Regions from separate parts of the Homo sapiens genome. Here all the other regions are linked to region 1. The links are contacts of gene promoters, found by promoter capture Hi-C in blood cells and fetal thymus (Javierre and others, 2016). All regions are on one chromosome and are shown on one strand. Each heading gives the region's core, a stretch centred on a gene start or on the middle of the fragment in contact. The rest is flanking DNA. Distances are from core to core; before and after follow the strand shown.

Evidence for each region. The method cuts DNA at HindIII sites, captures the fragments that hold promoters and counts their contacts. A CHiCAGO score of 5 or more calls a contact.
Region 2: a contact is called between a fragment that was not itself captured here and the fragment with the promoter of RNF43 in region 1, in 1 of 17 cell types (M2 macrophages). The highest score is 5.1, in M2 macrophages.
Region 3: a fragment that was not itself captured here is called in contact with the fragment with the promoter of RNF43 in region 1 in 3 of 17 cell types (M2 macrophages, neutrophils and monocytes); the score reaches 5.9 in M2 macrophages.
Region 4: a contact is called between a fragment that was not itself captured here and the fragment with the promoter of RNF43 in region 1, in 1 of 17 cell types (M1 macrophages). The highest score is 5.5, in M1 macrophages.

Annotation. Positions count from the first base shown.
Region 1 is chr17:58,416,275-58,420,258 of GRCh38, reverse strand. It overlaps RNF43 (ring finger protein 43), which reads left to right and starts at 2,725. Exons shown (of 10, transcript NM_017763.6): 1 at 2,725-3,242. HSF5 (heat shock transcription factor 5) reads left to right here. Exons shown (of 6, transcript NM_001080439.3): 6 at 1-92. The HindIII fragment of the contact is 6,426 bases long and covers 1-3,984 here.
Region 2 is chr17:58,184,833-58,188,514 of GRCh38, reverse strand. No RefSeq gene overlaps it. Among named protein-coding and RNA genes, the nearest start is that of EPX, 6.1 kb to the left of the region's middle. The HindIII fragment of the contact is 2,529 bases long and covers 371-2,899 here.
Region 3 is chr17:58,248,629-58,252,320 of GRCh38, reverse strand. LPO (lactoperoxidase) reads right to left here. Exons shown (of 13, transcript NM_006151.3): 5 at 3,144-3,261; 6 at 2,626-2,755; 7 at 1,700-1,906; 8 at 1-139. LOC124904038 (a long non-coding RNA gene) reads left to right here and starts at 3,237. Exons shown (of 3, transcript XR_007065862.1): 1 at 3,237-3,379. RefSeq lists enhancers at 2,772-2,841, 2,972-3,537. The HindIII fragment of the contact is 3,901 bases long and covers 1-3,662 here.
Region 4 is chr17:58,169,128-58,172,909 of GRCh38, reverse strand. It overlaps OR4D2 (olfactory receptor family 4 subfamily D member 2), which reads right to left. Exons shown (of 2, transcript NM_001004707.4): 2 at 1,794-3,272. The coding sequence starts at 3,254. The coding sequence ends at 2,331. Among named protein-coding and RNA genes, the nearest start is that of OR4D2, 4.0 kb to the right of the region's middle. The HindIII fragment of the contact is 727 bases long and covers 1,723-2,449 here.

The DNA.
Region 1 (3,984 bases), core at 1,476-3,975:
AACAAGGTTCCTGACTAGTACCTCAGTATTTCAGCACCTTAAGCACTGATAAATTTCAATCAGTCAACAATAAAGTGAGTGTTCCAACTAGACTTGTTGTCTTGCTTGTTCTTACTGTTTGGTGATTAATAGAAAATTCAATAATTATGACAGTTAATAGTATAATTCAAATGAGATTTACTTTATTTTTCAAATAATCTGAATTTTAAAAGTTTTTTTTCATTTGTACTTGAATAGCAATGGAATTTTTTAAATGCCGTTAGGGATAAGGACAATTCTTAGACATGTTTTACAGAAACCTACATTTTTGGAAAAGGATGAATGATCTTTGATAAATTTAATCAATCCAGAGGTGAAAGTAGATCCTGAAGGATGATCTATCTCATGTATAAGACTAGCTAGTAGATGTCATTGAGACTTAGGCATTTCATTACAATAGTGATGGCATCTTTATGACATCTCTAGGAAAATGTAGTAGTATATCAACCCTAGAGGGTAACTCCAAAACTTTGAAGCTGAAGAATAATTGCTCTTGCAATTCTGGTGATCTAAAACAGTGAACTAAGCTACATAGAGCTGTTTGGTTTGATCTTGAGTTTCTCCAAGTCTCCAGGTTCATGATGCATATCATCATCATTTCCAAATCTCAGAGTTTCCTCAAGAGAGGGCAACCACATTTGTAACTGTCTTCTTTCTGTCAATTAAGTGTGTGTATTAATTACTAGGGCTAGGTCTTTTCATTCCTTTGCACGTTTTAAGCAGGAATAGATGAGGCAAAGCCCATTTGTAGGTTATTTTTTAGTTTAACTATGTTAAATTAAACTATGTTGGTCAGGCTGGTCTCAAATTCCCGACCTCGTGATCCACCCACCTTGGTCAACCAAAGTGCTGGGATTATAGGCGTGAGTCACCACGCCTGGCCCAACAAAAATTTTTTTTAAATTTGCAGGGTGTTGGCCAGGCGCAGTGGCTCACGCCTGTAATCCCAGCACTTTGGGAGACCGAGGCGGGTGGATCACAAGGTCAGGAGATGGAGACCATCCTGGCTAACACGGTGAAACCCCGTCTCTACTAAAAATACAAAAAATTAGCTGGGCGTGGTGGCGGGCGCCTGTAATCCCAGCTACTCGGGAGGCTGAGGCAGGAGAATGGCATGAACCGGGAGGCGGAGCTTGCAGTGAGCCGAGATAGCGCCACTGCACTCCAGCCTGGGCAACAGAGCGGGACTCCGTCTCAAAAAAAAAAAAAAAAAAATTTGCAGGGTGTGGTGGGACGCACCTGTGATCCCAGCTACTCTGGAGGCTGAGGTGGGAGGCCATGAAGGTCAAGGCTGCAGTGAGCCATGATGGCACAACTGTGCTCCAGCGTGGGTAACACAAGACCCTGTCTCAAACAACAAAAATAAACAAAAAATTTATTTTCGAATTTGTCTTTGATCTAGGTTAGTTATTAGATCTGAAATTCTGAAACTACTGTCATAAACCTTATCTACAGGGGAAACAATGTTGAAGGTCAATAGGCTACTCATCCTTTTTGCTTTCAGAGGCATTATGTCATTTAATCTTTACAACAGACCTATCGTAATTATTATCATCAGCATTTTACAGATGATCAGAGATTCGTTTTTACATGAGGTAAGAAACACATAAAATTTACTATCATAACCATTTTTAAGTGTACAGTTCACTAGATTTAACTATATCCACATTGTTGTTCATTTGTATAATTTTGAAAGTTTATGGCAGCGGTTCAGAAATAAAATGTCTCACCACAGTCAAATATAATCTGGTAATTTGAAACTTCAAATGTTATAAATGTATTAGAAACTGTTGTATTATTTCTAATGGCAGGGTAGTAATAAGGATTATAGTTCATGAATGTGGTAATTAGCCAGAAATTCATTTTCTTTTTGCCTATGTTCTTCTCATTAATCATATTTTACCCTTTGGCTTGTATTTATGACATGGACTTATTTGGAGTCTTACATTGAAGGCATAGGTCTGATCCATAGTATTATTTCACCTCCCAAAGATTGAAAAGAAAATAACAGTTGGATTCCAGACATCTGACATCAACCTGATTTGAAAGTTCCATATAGGCACAGTTTAGACAGAGCTACTGAATTTAAATTAGTAAGAGCTGAAGAAAAGCTAAGCATAAAATGGACAGAGCCCTTCCCAGGGTAGCAGACATAAGCAGCAATAAATCAGTAAGTACTAAAACACAGGATCACTTTATTCTGGCTTTCTGCCATTTATAGACACTCAAACTTGGAATGAGCAGAAATCCTTTTGAACTTATATTTGCAAAACCTTGTGTCCATTCTTTTATCTTCCGGATTACCTTTATTTTTTTCTGTTTATTTCCTCATACCATCATCTATGCTCTGTTGGGTGCAGAGTCTGCTTAGATATCTTTGAGTGGCCCTGATTTGCATGTGGTAGCTTGCTTACCCAGAGAAAGGTACTCGGGATCGAATTGGATGCAGTTTAGCTGTGGCTCAGTAGAGGGAGTAGAGGAGCTGAGGGAGGGGGGAGAGCGAAAGAACGGGTCTGGTTAAGTAAGTGTTGTGTGTGAGCACCAGGAGGAGGGGGGCAGGGTGGGGAGTGGTTGCCTCTAGCAGCTCCACCCTCACTTTGTCAGCAGGTAGAGAGCGTGATTGCAGTCCCAGGGGAGGGAGTCAGAGCTAGAACACCAATTACAAACCACAGGCTTCCTGCTCTAGGGAGTTGATCCAGAATTGTCTTTCTGAAAGGAAGCACTCGGAATCCTTCCGAACTTTCCAAGTCCATCCATGATTCAGAGATACTGCCTTCTCTCTCTCTGGGATTTTATGTGTTTCTGATAGTGAATTGTTGATGTATTTGCTACTTTGCTTCTTTTCTCTTTCAAGACTTGATCATTTTATATGCTGTTTGGAGAAAAAAAGAACTTTTGTTAGCAAGGAGGTTTCAGAAATGATTTTGGATTTTCTGTAAGTGTTTAATTTAGTTCTAGGGGACAGCATCTCTCATCCCGGAGTAAATTTCTGCCTTTGACCTGCATGGATTATTTTTTCAGGCTGCGGAATTTCTCGGCACCTACCTGTAGTATGGGGCACTTGGTTTGGTTGCAGAGTAAGAAGGTGGAAGAATGAGCTGTACTTGGTTAAGCAGTTGAAACCTTTTTTGAGCAGGATCTGTAAAAGCATAATTGAATTTGTTTCACCCCCGTGGATTCCAGTGGGCCCGACAGCGCAACAGGTTTGCAGATTTCTTTTGAAATTCCTTTTTCCCCCCTCCCTCTGCCTCAGCAAAAGAAAAGAATCCATATAACAGGTTCATGTTCAATTGCTTGGCTTTTCAGCACTTATTCTGAAGACTTTATAATATTTTTAAACTTGACCTTGGAACACAGAGGGCTTTGTGGGTGAGGTGTATTTATATTTACTTAAGGGTGCACATTTTAAAAATCTTATTCTGTGTTTGTACAAAGACGCAAATTTTCATAGTGCCTAGAAATAGCACAGATCTATTCTACTCAAGATTATTTGTATTTTTTCAGGGTATTCTACCTAGAGCCTGTGGTTAATCGCCTCCCTGCTCCCCCTACCTTTTATTCCCTACCCCCTCAGGGAATTTGGATACATGTGAGGAATAGTCCTTTGTTTTTCTTATGAACCTAGAAAATTACAGATCATAAAATCTGGATATTAAAGTAGTTTCCAAAAGCATCTCATGGGAAATCAAAGTGCTCGGCATTTCCGAGCTGGAGAATAAAATCAAGAATCCTTAAGAGAGAAAAGAAAATGGAGATGGAAATATGAATTTTAACTGGGAAAAATAATTGGAAAGCTAACCTTTTCAAATACTCTAATTATGAAAGTTGGAAAAGGTTGTGATGCTCAGGATTATCCTGTAATGTGTGAAGATACATAAATTAGCACCTAATTTATAGGCAAATTTTGGTAAAACACAAAAAATTATGGTATGTCTAAGTTCATGA
Region 2 (3,682 bases), core at 386-2,885, 230 kb after region 1:
AACAATTACAAACTTAGAAGAATAAATTAGATCTTAAAGTAATTATTCAAATTCAGTACAATATTTCATGTATGAAGTAAAATTTGCACTTAAAAATCAAGTTCTGTCTCCTCATCTTTACAATCACTGTGCTATCATTGTTTATATCGAACGAGCTGTTTAAATGCAAGAATCTACAGTGCTAACAGGGGCAGGAGGCGCACGTTGCACCAAAGACCGCTCAGAGGAATCTGAGCCATCAGCCCATCCTCAGAGGGAACATACTCAGCCAAGCGAGCCACTGTATGACTGGGAATTCTCCCAACCAACTTCCACATGGAAGACAGTGCTTCTTAAAGGATAAGCAATAAAAGTGCATTAACTTGAAGCTTCCACATATTACTAAGCCCAATGGTAATCACAGCAATGGTTTAGAATCTAGACCAACACAAGATTTCTTTGGGGAGCAGGATTTGAGCTCTGAAATTATGTAAACTTGCCCCTGCATGGTGATCATCGTAAGCAGCCTGACCTTTTATCTGTGTTGTTATTTCTTGTAAACTTCCTATAGATGACGAACCCCTTATTTTCTGCCCTGGAACGGGTGGCTTCCTCTGCCCTGTCCTTGGTACTGGCATTTGTCCCGTCTAATTACCTTTGCTAAGTGACAAGTTGGGAGGCTTTCGTGTCCTTCCATACCCTTGCCCCACCCCGCCTTCAACACACTCTGGTTTCCCAGGGAGAGGGAAGAGGAGAGCACTGGAGGTAGAGAAGGAATTGCTCATGGGTGTCCTGGGATGAGCCCAGCCCGTCCAGGGTCCTAGTGGGCAGGGTCACAGTCTGTGGGGTCTATTCATGATATTCCTTCAGCAGCAGTACAGGGAACTCCAAATCCTTCCATGGCTTCCTAGGCCCTGGAGGACTTCTCCAGCCTCTGCCCTCACCTCTTCCACCACCCTTCCTCCACACTCCAGCTTCATCCCCCGAAGGTTTCTGATGCACCGTGTTCCCCTCTCCCCTGGGTCCTTGCACGTGTTCCCTTTGCCTGATTAACTTCTACTCATCTTCCCAACTGAGCCGCGTCATTACTTTCTCCAGGTAGCCTTCTCTCATCCCTTTCCTTTTCACTCCCCAGATATGATCTGAATTAGACACCCCATTTTTGTCTGTGGGGCACCTGATGCTGATACTTCCCTCAACACATACTGTGCTGTACTGAAGGCATGCTGTCACCGTGTCCGTCTCCTGGACTGGCCACTGATCCCCAGTCCTGGTCTCATTTACAGCTGCATACCTTGTACCCACCACAGGGTTGGGCCCAGGGCCAGCGCTCAGAAATGTTTGTGGAACATGAGTGAACCACGTCACAGACTAACTCTGTGAGTCCACACACCCTTTTTCACCCTGGAAAGGAAGACAGGTCCCCTTCCCTCCCCACATCCCAAATCTCCTTCCTTCTCCAGATGGCAGTTCAGCCACTCCCAGGGTTTTGACCTTGATAAGCCAGGTGGGTGGGGTGGGGCAGGGGTGGGGGTGCCACCACGAGGTGATGTAGAGAACGAAGAGCCTTAGGGTGGGCACCAAGTGGGTCCTGAGGCCATCTCCATTGCAAGGCTGGCCAGGTGGGTGGTTAGAGCGGGTGCTGTCCAAGGGAGGTGAGGATGGACAACCCACTGGACATGGAGGCCACCTGCTGGGGACATCACTTGGGACACCTCCCAGGGCTGGGCATGTGGGAAGCCCGGCTCCCTTCAAGGCCTGTGTGAGCTCTTCCCTCAATAAGTGGAGTCCAGAACCCGCTGCTGGGCCTGGGCCAGGCTCCCTACAGGCCTGGGACCTGGTTGGACTTCAGAGGCTTGGGAGTTGTGTGGGAGAGCTCTTCTCCAGAAAGGGAAATGGGCAAAAGAAATGTCCAAGACCAAGCTACACAGGAGGAAATGTTTGTAATGAGACCCACCAGAAAGACTGCTCTTGGGGCGACAGGAGAAAACAAGGCTGCTTGGAGACTGGGAATGAAGGGGACAGAGAAGGTAGAGGTGTTTTTGGGGAAGAGGGCCCTGACCAGCCGGCCCTCTGGTTGCTGCTGTCCCTCCCTCCCTGGTGGCTATGGGAGTATGAGGCCTTGGGAGATCTGGCACCACTGGTCCTGTAAACATCCAGTCGCCTCTGCTGCAGTTGCTCCTAAGGAAAGGGAACCCGCAGGGATTTGCACAGTCTGGCACCTGCCAGTTTCCTCTCCAGTGTCCCATCCCCTCACCCTCTATTCCTCTGCCCTCTGAACCCACTGGCTTACAGTCCCCAAAACAGGCCTATTTCCTTCCTGTTTTGGGTCATAACCATGAAGCCTCTTCCGTCTGTTTGCCTGGCCAACTCTTATTCATCCTCTGGGTCTTATCCACAGAGAGCTTTTCTGTCCCACCTCCACAGTCTGGTCCTTCCCATTCCTTACTTTTGTAGCTCCCTTCCTAGAGAGTAACATCATTAAACACATATCTCTAGGGTTGGATTTGACTAAGCTCCAGTCCCTGCAGGTCTGTGAGTGTCACAGAAAACAGGTGTGTGCCTGTTTTGATGCTCACTGTAACCTCATTACCTAACACAATACCTGGCAGAGGCTGAATATGTATTTGTGGAATGAATGCATTTGCTCTCACCTTGATTTTCATGGCTGGCTCTTGAGTCAGGGAATGGATTGTGCCTGTACATCCGTCAGGATTCAGTGCCTTTTGTCAGGGGCATTGTTCTTTCGGGGCCAGGCCAGCCCTGGGTCAGTGGATGCTGTGGCAGGCCTGGCCCTGCCTGGTCAGTATCCAGCCCCTAGACCATGAGGGAGCTTTCCTTCCTGGGCATCTTTCAGCTGCAATACCCAATATCCTCCACACCTGCCTACCCTCCCCTGGCCAGCTCAAAACTTCAAGCTTCTGCTTTCACAAGAACCGTCCATGGTGGAGCTGCTGGCCACAGGCCTGATTAGATCTCTTTATCTGCTCAGCTCCAACGGCCCCAACTGAGACAGCAGGGACTGGCCAAAGTGCGGGGCCTGAAGGGCCTGCTTCTGCTCCCAGGGCTTCCTGAGAATGAGGTCCTTGGCCCTATTTTCATGAGAACACTGAGGGTGTGCAGGGAGGAGGGTTCTGGCTCAAACTGCAGTGGCCCCACACTGTACCAGAGGCTGAGGCAGGCCAGGAGTTTGTGCACATGTGTGCATGTGTATATGTACACATGTGTACATGTGTGGTCCAGAGATGAGGACTCTCCTGACCAAGGAAGCTCTCAGTCCTCTGCCTTTAGCAAGGCTGAAGAAAACTCAGTTCGGGGACTTGGAGAGCTGGCCTGGGGGTCTGGCACCACTTCTGACCGTGTGACGTTGAGCAAGGGCTTGGCCTCTCTGATCTGCTAGTAAAGTCACTAAAGGGCAAGAAGAAGATCGCGGGGGCAGGAGGGCTCTCTGGTGAGCACTTGGGAGGTGCACAGGTCCACACTAGAGGGCCAGCTGAGGGCAAGCACCTGTCCCCTCTCTCCTCCCTCCTGCCTTGGCCTGATGTGACAGTTTGTACCTCACCTCCTCCATCAGACTAGGAGCTCCCAAGGGCAGGGCCTGGGGCATGGGAGAGGGTCTGTGGGCTTGCAGAAGAGACAGACCTTGCTTTAGATCAATGAAGTAACGAGTAGGAAGGCTAGTGGGGCATGTGACCCATGGGGC
Region 3 (3,692 bases), core at 463-2,962, 170 kb after region 1:
TGGCATCCAGGAAGGAGGTCAGAGCGTTGATCTGCTCTCGGGCCAGGGACTTGTAGGGTGGAGTGGGGCAGACGAACCCAGCTCGGAAGAAAGGCATGCATTTCCCTTGAGTCCCCGCCTTGGGGTCATTGGGTGGGAACTGCAGAGAGAGTGGGCATAAGTGACTGGGCAGGGGTGGAACAGCTGGGTCCTGGCAACCTCTCCCCAGGGCAAGTCTGGATGCAAAGATGCTGATGGCACCCTCCTAGGACCCTGGTACCAGACACTGACCCCAGACACTTCTTGCTGACATTACACACCCTGGGCTCATAATATCCTGAAGTTCATTACATCCTGTTGTGTGAAAGAACTGAGGGTAATCATTCAGTCCTCACAGTGAGGGCTCCAAATTTCTGGTGAGGAGGGAGTATTGAGCTCCCTGGACAGGAAAGCAGGACACGAGGTGGGAACAGGTTTGTTAATAATTACTACTAACAACAGCTGCCATGTATTTATTTTGGACTTACCATGTGCCAGGAATTATGCATACTTTAACTCATCTCAGTCCTCAAAAAAACCCTGTAAGGTGGACAATTCAGTTCCATTTTATAGATGAGAAAACTGGGGCTCAGAAAAGTTAAGTAAGTTGCCTAAGAACTTATACACTGGAAGGGAAAGATGTAGGATTCAGATCATTGGCTTCATTCCACAGTTTATGCTCTTTATACCACAGCACATAGCCTCGATTTATTCTTTGAGTGAAGAAATGACTCTCCAACTGTAATACCCATGAATAATAAGAAAAGATGCATTGCTGCAAGCTCCTCTCCCTTCCGGATGGAAATCCCTACAAATCCCTGCTGCTCACTCGGATTCATCCAGGTTTCAAGTCCTTCTGAGTGGAGTTGAAGTCATCCTCCACGATGATGTACAGCAGTATAAACTTTATCATGTATAAAATGAATCTCTGTTGATCTTGGTAAAAATGTAGAATCTATTTCCTAACATCTTGGGTGAGACTTGAGATTTTGCATTTTTTTTTTCTTTTTCTTTTTTCTTTTTTGAGTTGGAATCTTGCTCTGTTGCCCAGGCTGGAGTGCAGTGGCGTGATCTCGGCTCACTGCAACCTCCGCCTCCCAGGTTCAAGCGGTTCTCCTGCCTCAACCTCCTGAGTAGCTGGGACCACATGCATGTGCCACCTCGCCAGGCTAATTTTTGTATTTTTAGTAGAGACGGGGTTTCACCATGTTGGCCAGGCTGGTCTCAAACTCTTGACCTCAGGTGATCTGTCCACCTCAGCCTCCCCAAGTGCTGGGATTATAGGCATGAGCCGCCTCGCCCAACTGAGATTTTACATTTCTAATAAGCAGGTTTTACCAATGCTGCTGGGTCGGGAATGTAGACAACCTTCTCCAGTGTTCCCATTCTGCTATCAGTAGTTTACTTGTCCAATTCCCACACTGGCCCTTTGTTCTTGAGAGCAGGAGCGGTGTCCTGTTCACTTTGGAATCCTCAGCGCTTAGTGCACTGCCTGGTATGGGGTGGTCAATGTCTATTTACTGAATAAACGGATGAGTGAACGAATGGACACGTGAGGCATGGGAAACTACCAAATCAGTATCCCAGATCTATCCAGAGATCCTAGCTGATGAGCTGGGAATGTCTGCTACATCAGGGTGGGCAAGGGGCTAGTCAGAGATGCCTAGCTGCAGGGCCGTACCATGATGGGGAAGCAGTTGTCTCCCTGGATACAGTACTCATCACACTGGGCTTTGGAGTACTCGCTACTCCCCAGCTCGGTGTCAGGGGCAAAGTCCAGGTCATGATCCACAATCTGACCCCACTGCATGAAGAGCAGGGACCTGTTTTGGTCCAGAACACCCTCCTCATTCAGATAGCCAACAATCTTGTTAGATACCTCCCGGGCCTACAGATGGAGAGAGAAGGGGAGGGCAGATTAGAGGAAAAAGTGCTTTGAGGATTCAGATGCAACTACAGCTTATTAACTACCTACCATGTTACAAGTGCACTTAATCCCTACAAGGAGTTTGTGAGGTGGGTGGCATTAGCCTATTCTGTAGAGGGGGAGATTGAATCCTGGACAGGTGAAGTCAGTTCTCCAAGGTCCTGCCGCTACAAAGGGACAGGGATGGGATTGAACCCAGATCCGTATGACTTGATGATTTGCCAAGCCGGTGCCCTTTCCACTAAGAGAGGGAAAACAAAGACAGGCTGCCTCTGAAATGCGAGCTACGGAGGTGCCAGGTGTCCAGGAATAGGAGAGGGGCTCTGGGTAGGGGCTGCCAGCTCGATAAGGCCAACAAATAGGACCTCCAGGCAAACAACAGCTGATGCACTCCAGGGGCGGGGGCTGGGGTAAGTGCGAGCGGGATGGGGCAGGGAGGCCATCTGCCCGGGAGACCCCAGGGTATCTGGCCTGCGGCGGCCAGAACGTGACCGCCACGTGGCCGGGCTCCGGGCTCCGAGCTCTGCTGCCCTCTAGCGGAAGGTGGGGGTCTGTGCAGATCTCCATCGCGCACCCCTGCTGCCCCCACCGATCCCTCCTCCTCCTTTCACTGCGTGTTTGGGTAGTGCATCCCGTCCCCTCTGGCTCCCATCCTTCACCCCGGCCCGGCCTGCCCTCACCAGCGGGAGAGGGAAGCCGTTGCGCGTCTTCCCCGGCGTCCAGCCGAAGGGCAGGGAGAGCCCGTCCTCGTACTCCGCGGGCAGCCAGCGCGCCAGAGCCCTGTTGGCGGCGCCCAGCGCAGGCTTCCTCCTGAAACCAGCACGATCCTCGCTGAGCTTCGGCAGGCCGGCTCCGGGGCTCCAAAGCCCAGGACCCCATGGGGGAAGGAGCCTCTGCTCGAGGCGGAGGGGACGCAGAGAAGGGGGCCTCTCAAATTTGGGGTCTCTGAACTGCGCCCACCCCCTGAAGGCGCGGGGCTCCCCCGCCCCGGGGAAAGGTGCCGCTTCCAGAGACACACAGTGGGCTGGAGGGAGAGGGCTGGAGACGCGCGATCTTGAGAAGGTGGGGAAGGTGGGAACGCCAGCCCAGGTGGGCAAGGCAGTGGCAGATCTGCCTAGAGTGCCCAAGGGACAAAGGCCTTGGCAGGGCGGGGCGGAGTGGCTGGAATGGTCGGCCCCCACACCCCAAGCCCCGCCACCTGTTATTGCAGTCTCCCGTAATGGTGCGGTAAGGGCTGCACGGGTCGCATCTCACCACGGGAGCAGGAGCACCACAGCCCACCTCCAGAGACAGTGAAGTCAAGTCCAGGCTGGGATCTGAAACAGAAGGGACCCCAAAGGGACTGAGTTCTTTCTCCATTCACAGGCACCCGTGGGAGGCAGGAAATGGAGACCAGAGGTGAACCTGCATGTTTTGGAATGCATTCCATTCTAAGTAAGCGTTTCTCAAGTGGTTTCTCAATTAATCTGACAGCACATTAAGGTAATACATTTTATTCCCATTTTACAGGGAAGAAAATGAGAACACAATGTTCAAGAGACTTGCCCAAGGCCACACAGAGTAACTGGGAATGTCCCCAGAATTGCTAGTAATTCCTGGTATACCAGGTCCAGATTCATTTGAATTGACAGATCTTTCTTTTAGAATGGAAATACCCCGGGAGGTTAAGCATATGTTAGTATGAGTTAGTGTGATAAGACTGCTTTCTTCTAAAGCTTCGTTCACATCTGAAGTACCAAGCAAGCAG
Region 4 (3,782 bases), core at 837-3,336, 250 kb after region 1:
TCAGTGAGTTTCCTTGAAACTCCTATTTTGAATTCTTGGTCAGAGAGCTCACTAATCACCATCTTGTTAGGATCAGTGACTGGATTTTTGCTTTTTCCTTTTGAGGAAGTCATAGTTCCCTGTTTGCTGTTGTTTCTTGTGGGTATGTATCCATCTTTCCAGTTTTCTCTGTACAGCTTGTTTTGGTTTTTATTGAATACATTTGCTTATTGAATCTTCACTGCTAGGTCACTGCCTCTATTCGACTCTAGGTGGTGCCTTAAGCCCAGGTTCACCTCAGGACTAGTAAATGGTTGAAGCACTTCCTGTCTCAAATCAAGGAGATCCCAAAGAGATTATCCTGGCAGTGTGGGAAGTCTGGCTAGGGGTTTGTGCCCAGGGGACCTGGGGAACATGCCTCCTACAGCATGGTGCTGCTGGACAGCAACTCTGAGTTGGTGTCTCCTTTGGCTGAGTTACAGAGCAGAATTTCTCTGCCTTTCTTCGGGGACATTTCTTCTTTCAGGCAGTCATGATGCTATCTGTGGATTAAGGCAAGAACAGTTCTCCTGCCAGGGACCCCAAGAAGGTAAGGAAGCTGGTGGGCCACCTCAATTTCAGTTTTTCCAGTGTAGAAACTGTAGTTGGGAGGAGATTTTTTGGCACTTGGTGCTGGACAGAATGGGGATGAGGGGTGTCCCAGATGTGGAAGTCTGATTCTCCTATCAGCTGCTTGGACTTTTTTCATCCCTCTGTGGCCCCAAGAACTGTCTCACTCTTATACTTGAGCTCTGGGTTGTTTCTGGTGTAGATCTCAGTGCTATATATTTGTTTTTGGTTCTGTGGAAGTCGGGGAGTGAATCCAATTTTCCTCTATGATGGCATTTCGGAATCAGAGGTCTAGAGATATTATAGGTCAATTGAAATCATCCAGTCTAAGGAGCAAAAAGAAGAATAAACGAAAATGAACATAGGCTCAGAAGCCTGTGAGACACCATCAAGGATACCAAGACACACACATAATGAGAATCCTGGAAGAAGAGGAGAGAAAGGCGCAGTAAAAATAGTTTAGGCAATAATGGTCACAACTCCAACATGGAGAAACCCCATCTCTACTGAAAATGCAAAACTTAGCTGGGTGTGGTGATGAGTGAACTCCGGCCTCGGCAGCAGAGTGAAACTTCGTCTCAAAAAAAGCACTCTCCAATAGCCAAAACCTGGAAACAACCCAAATAAACTTATTTTCACAGTGGAATATTCTACAGCAGAGCAAATGAATGAATTAGAGCCAAACATCAACATGTTATGTTAGAAACATAACATGGAGTGAAAAAAGCAAATCCCAGAATATTATGTACAGTACAATATCTTTATAAAACTCCAAAGTAGCAAAACAATATACTGTTTATGTAAAAAAAGTGATGAAACTATTTTATACAAGCAATGAAGTGATAAACATGAAATTCAACAGAGTGATTTCTTCTGGATAGGAATCAAGGTGAACACAATGGAGAGGACAATACAGGTGAAGGCAAGTTATTGGTAACTTCTGGTTCTTGAATCGAGTAGTGTATACATGAGCATTTATACATAATGACATAAGTTTCATAATGTGCATGCATTGCCCATGATCTTTTATTCAAAATTTGTATATTATATTAAAATGTAAATATAGAGAGAAAAAGCTTGAATACTCATAATAATTTCATATTTGAAAATAAAATACAATCATTTTTAAAAGCTTGGAAGATAACATATAGTTATATGATTTACTTGTTGTTTTATCACAAAATTTTTTTATTTGAATCTCATAACAAACATAGAATATTTTAGGGGCACATACTAATTTAAGCAAATTGGTGAGGGAGAAATCATGAGGCCAAGAAAAGCTGGGTGGCTTACTCGAAGTCATCAGTTTGGTCAATGATGGGTCAGGGCCTCTAATTTAGAGCTTAAGACTCCAAATTCTGTGCTGTTCCCAACAACCCAGACTCACACCAAAAGGAAATATTGGGAAGAGAGCTCAAAATACGGAAAATAGAAATGTTCGCACAGGGGAAATGCTGTCAACAGGAAACTGTCCACCAAGAAGGTGAAAAGGAAGGTGTGGTTTTCAGGGGCCATGTGAACAATTCTCATTGTTGCGAGTGTGTTAAAACTCTTTATCACAAACCTTAACCACCAAAGAGGATACTTTCTTTTTTCCTAAAACACGAAGTTGCTTAGTTTCAAAATTCATTCCCTGCTATGATGAACCTCAACACACTATGAAGAGAGCAAAGGTAGTAGCTCCCTCTCCACTTCACAAAGGGAAAACAAAGCCAAAGAGAAGAAACCTACCATTGTCACTCTCAAACCAGCCGGTGTCTCCCTAATCTTCTCACTGCTGCCTGCATGTCCTGGTTCCTCAGGGTATAGATCATGGGGTTGAGCATGGGGGTCATGACTGTGTGGCCGATGGACACAAGCTTGTCCATAGGGAATGGAGTGAAGGGCCGGGCATAGAGGTAAATGCTTGGAACGAAGATCATGGAAACCACGATGATGTGGGTGGTGCAGGTGGAAGCTGCCTTCCTTCTTGCCTCCCCTGGATGTGACCTCAGCATCACCAGGATGAATAAGTAGGACATCAGGAGGAGGAAGAACCAGACGACATCCAGCAGCCCACTGTTGGAGATCTTGAGGAACTCCAGCAGTGAGGTGTCAGTGCAGGCAAGTCTCAGTACTTGGGGAACATCACAGTAGAAGTTATCCAAAATGTTGGGGCCACAGAAGGGCAGTGGGAGCATCAGAGCCAGCTGGACAATAGAGTGGACAAAGCCTCCCACCCAGGTGGCTACCACCAGCCCCACCCAGAGCTGAGTGTTCATGACGGTGACATAGCGGAGGGGCCGGGAGATGGCAATGAGGCGGTCAAAGGCCATCACTGAGAGGAAGAAGACCATGGCACCTCCCAAAAAGTGGAAGAAGAAGATCTGACCCATGCAGCCCTGGTAAGAGATGGTTTTCTTCTCAGAGAGGAGGTCCACTAGCATTTTGGGAGCAGTGACTGAAGAGAAACAGAGGTCTAGGACAGCCAGGTTTCGGAGCAGAAAGTACATGGGTGTGTGGAGCTGGGAATCAGAGGTCACTGTGATGATGATAAGGATGTTTCCCATAACAGTGGTGATGTAGACAAACAGGAACATTAGAAACAGGAAACGCTGGAGCTCCCGAGTCTGCGAGAGCCCCAGGAAGACAAAGTCTGATACCCACGTGAGGTTCCCTGTTTCCATGGTGTTTTCTCCATACACCTGAAGAAAATGAACCACAGACACAGATACATGAAGTCACTACTTTCCCTTTCAGGGCTCAGGGGCTCAGAACCAAGGTTTTAGGCCCATATGATGAGCATCCTTATGTGTAGACCATTATACTAGGTGCTGTCTTGTCTCTGGATCGTTTACAAGTGGGTGCTGGAATATACATTCCTGAAATCTTAACGCCATCCAGAAGTATATACAACCTGCCTTTCAAAGATTCATATAGTGGTGGGAAGACACTTGGAGTCAGATACATCTGAAGTCAAATTTCAGGTCTTTCATTTCATTGTGATTTGACCATGAGTAACTTACTTAATCTTTCTGGGCCTCAGTTTTCACGGGAATTTGTAAGGTAGAAATAAAAATACCTGCTTTGTAGAATTTTCTGAGGACTTAAGTAGAATGATAGATATAAAGTTCCTAAAACAGTGTATGGAATAATCAATGGCAATTACTCACCTGTGTGAATTCTCTTAATCTAAAGATATCCTCTCTTCCACT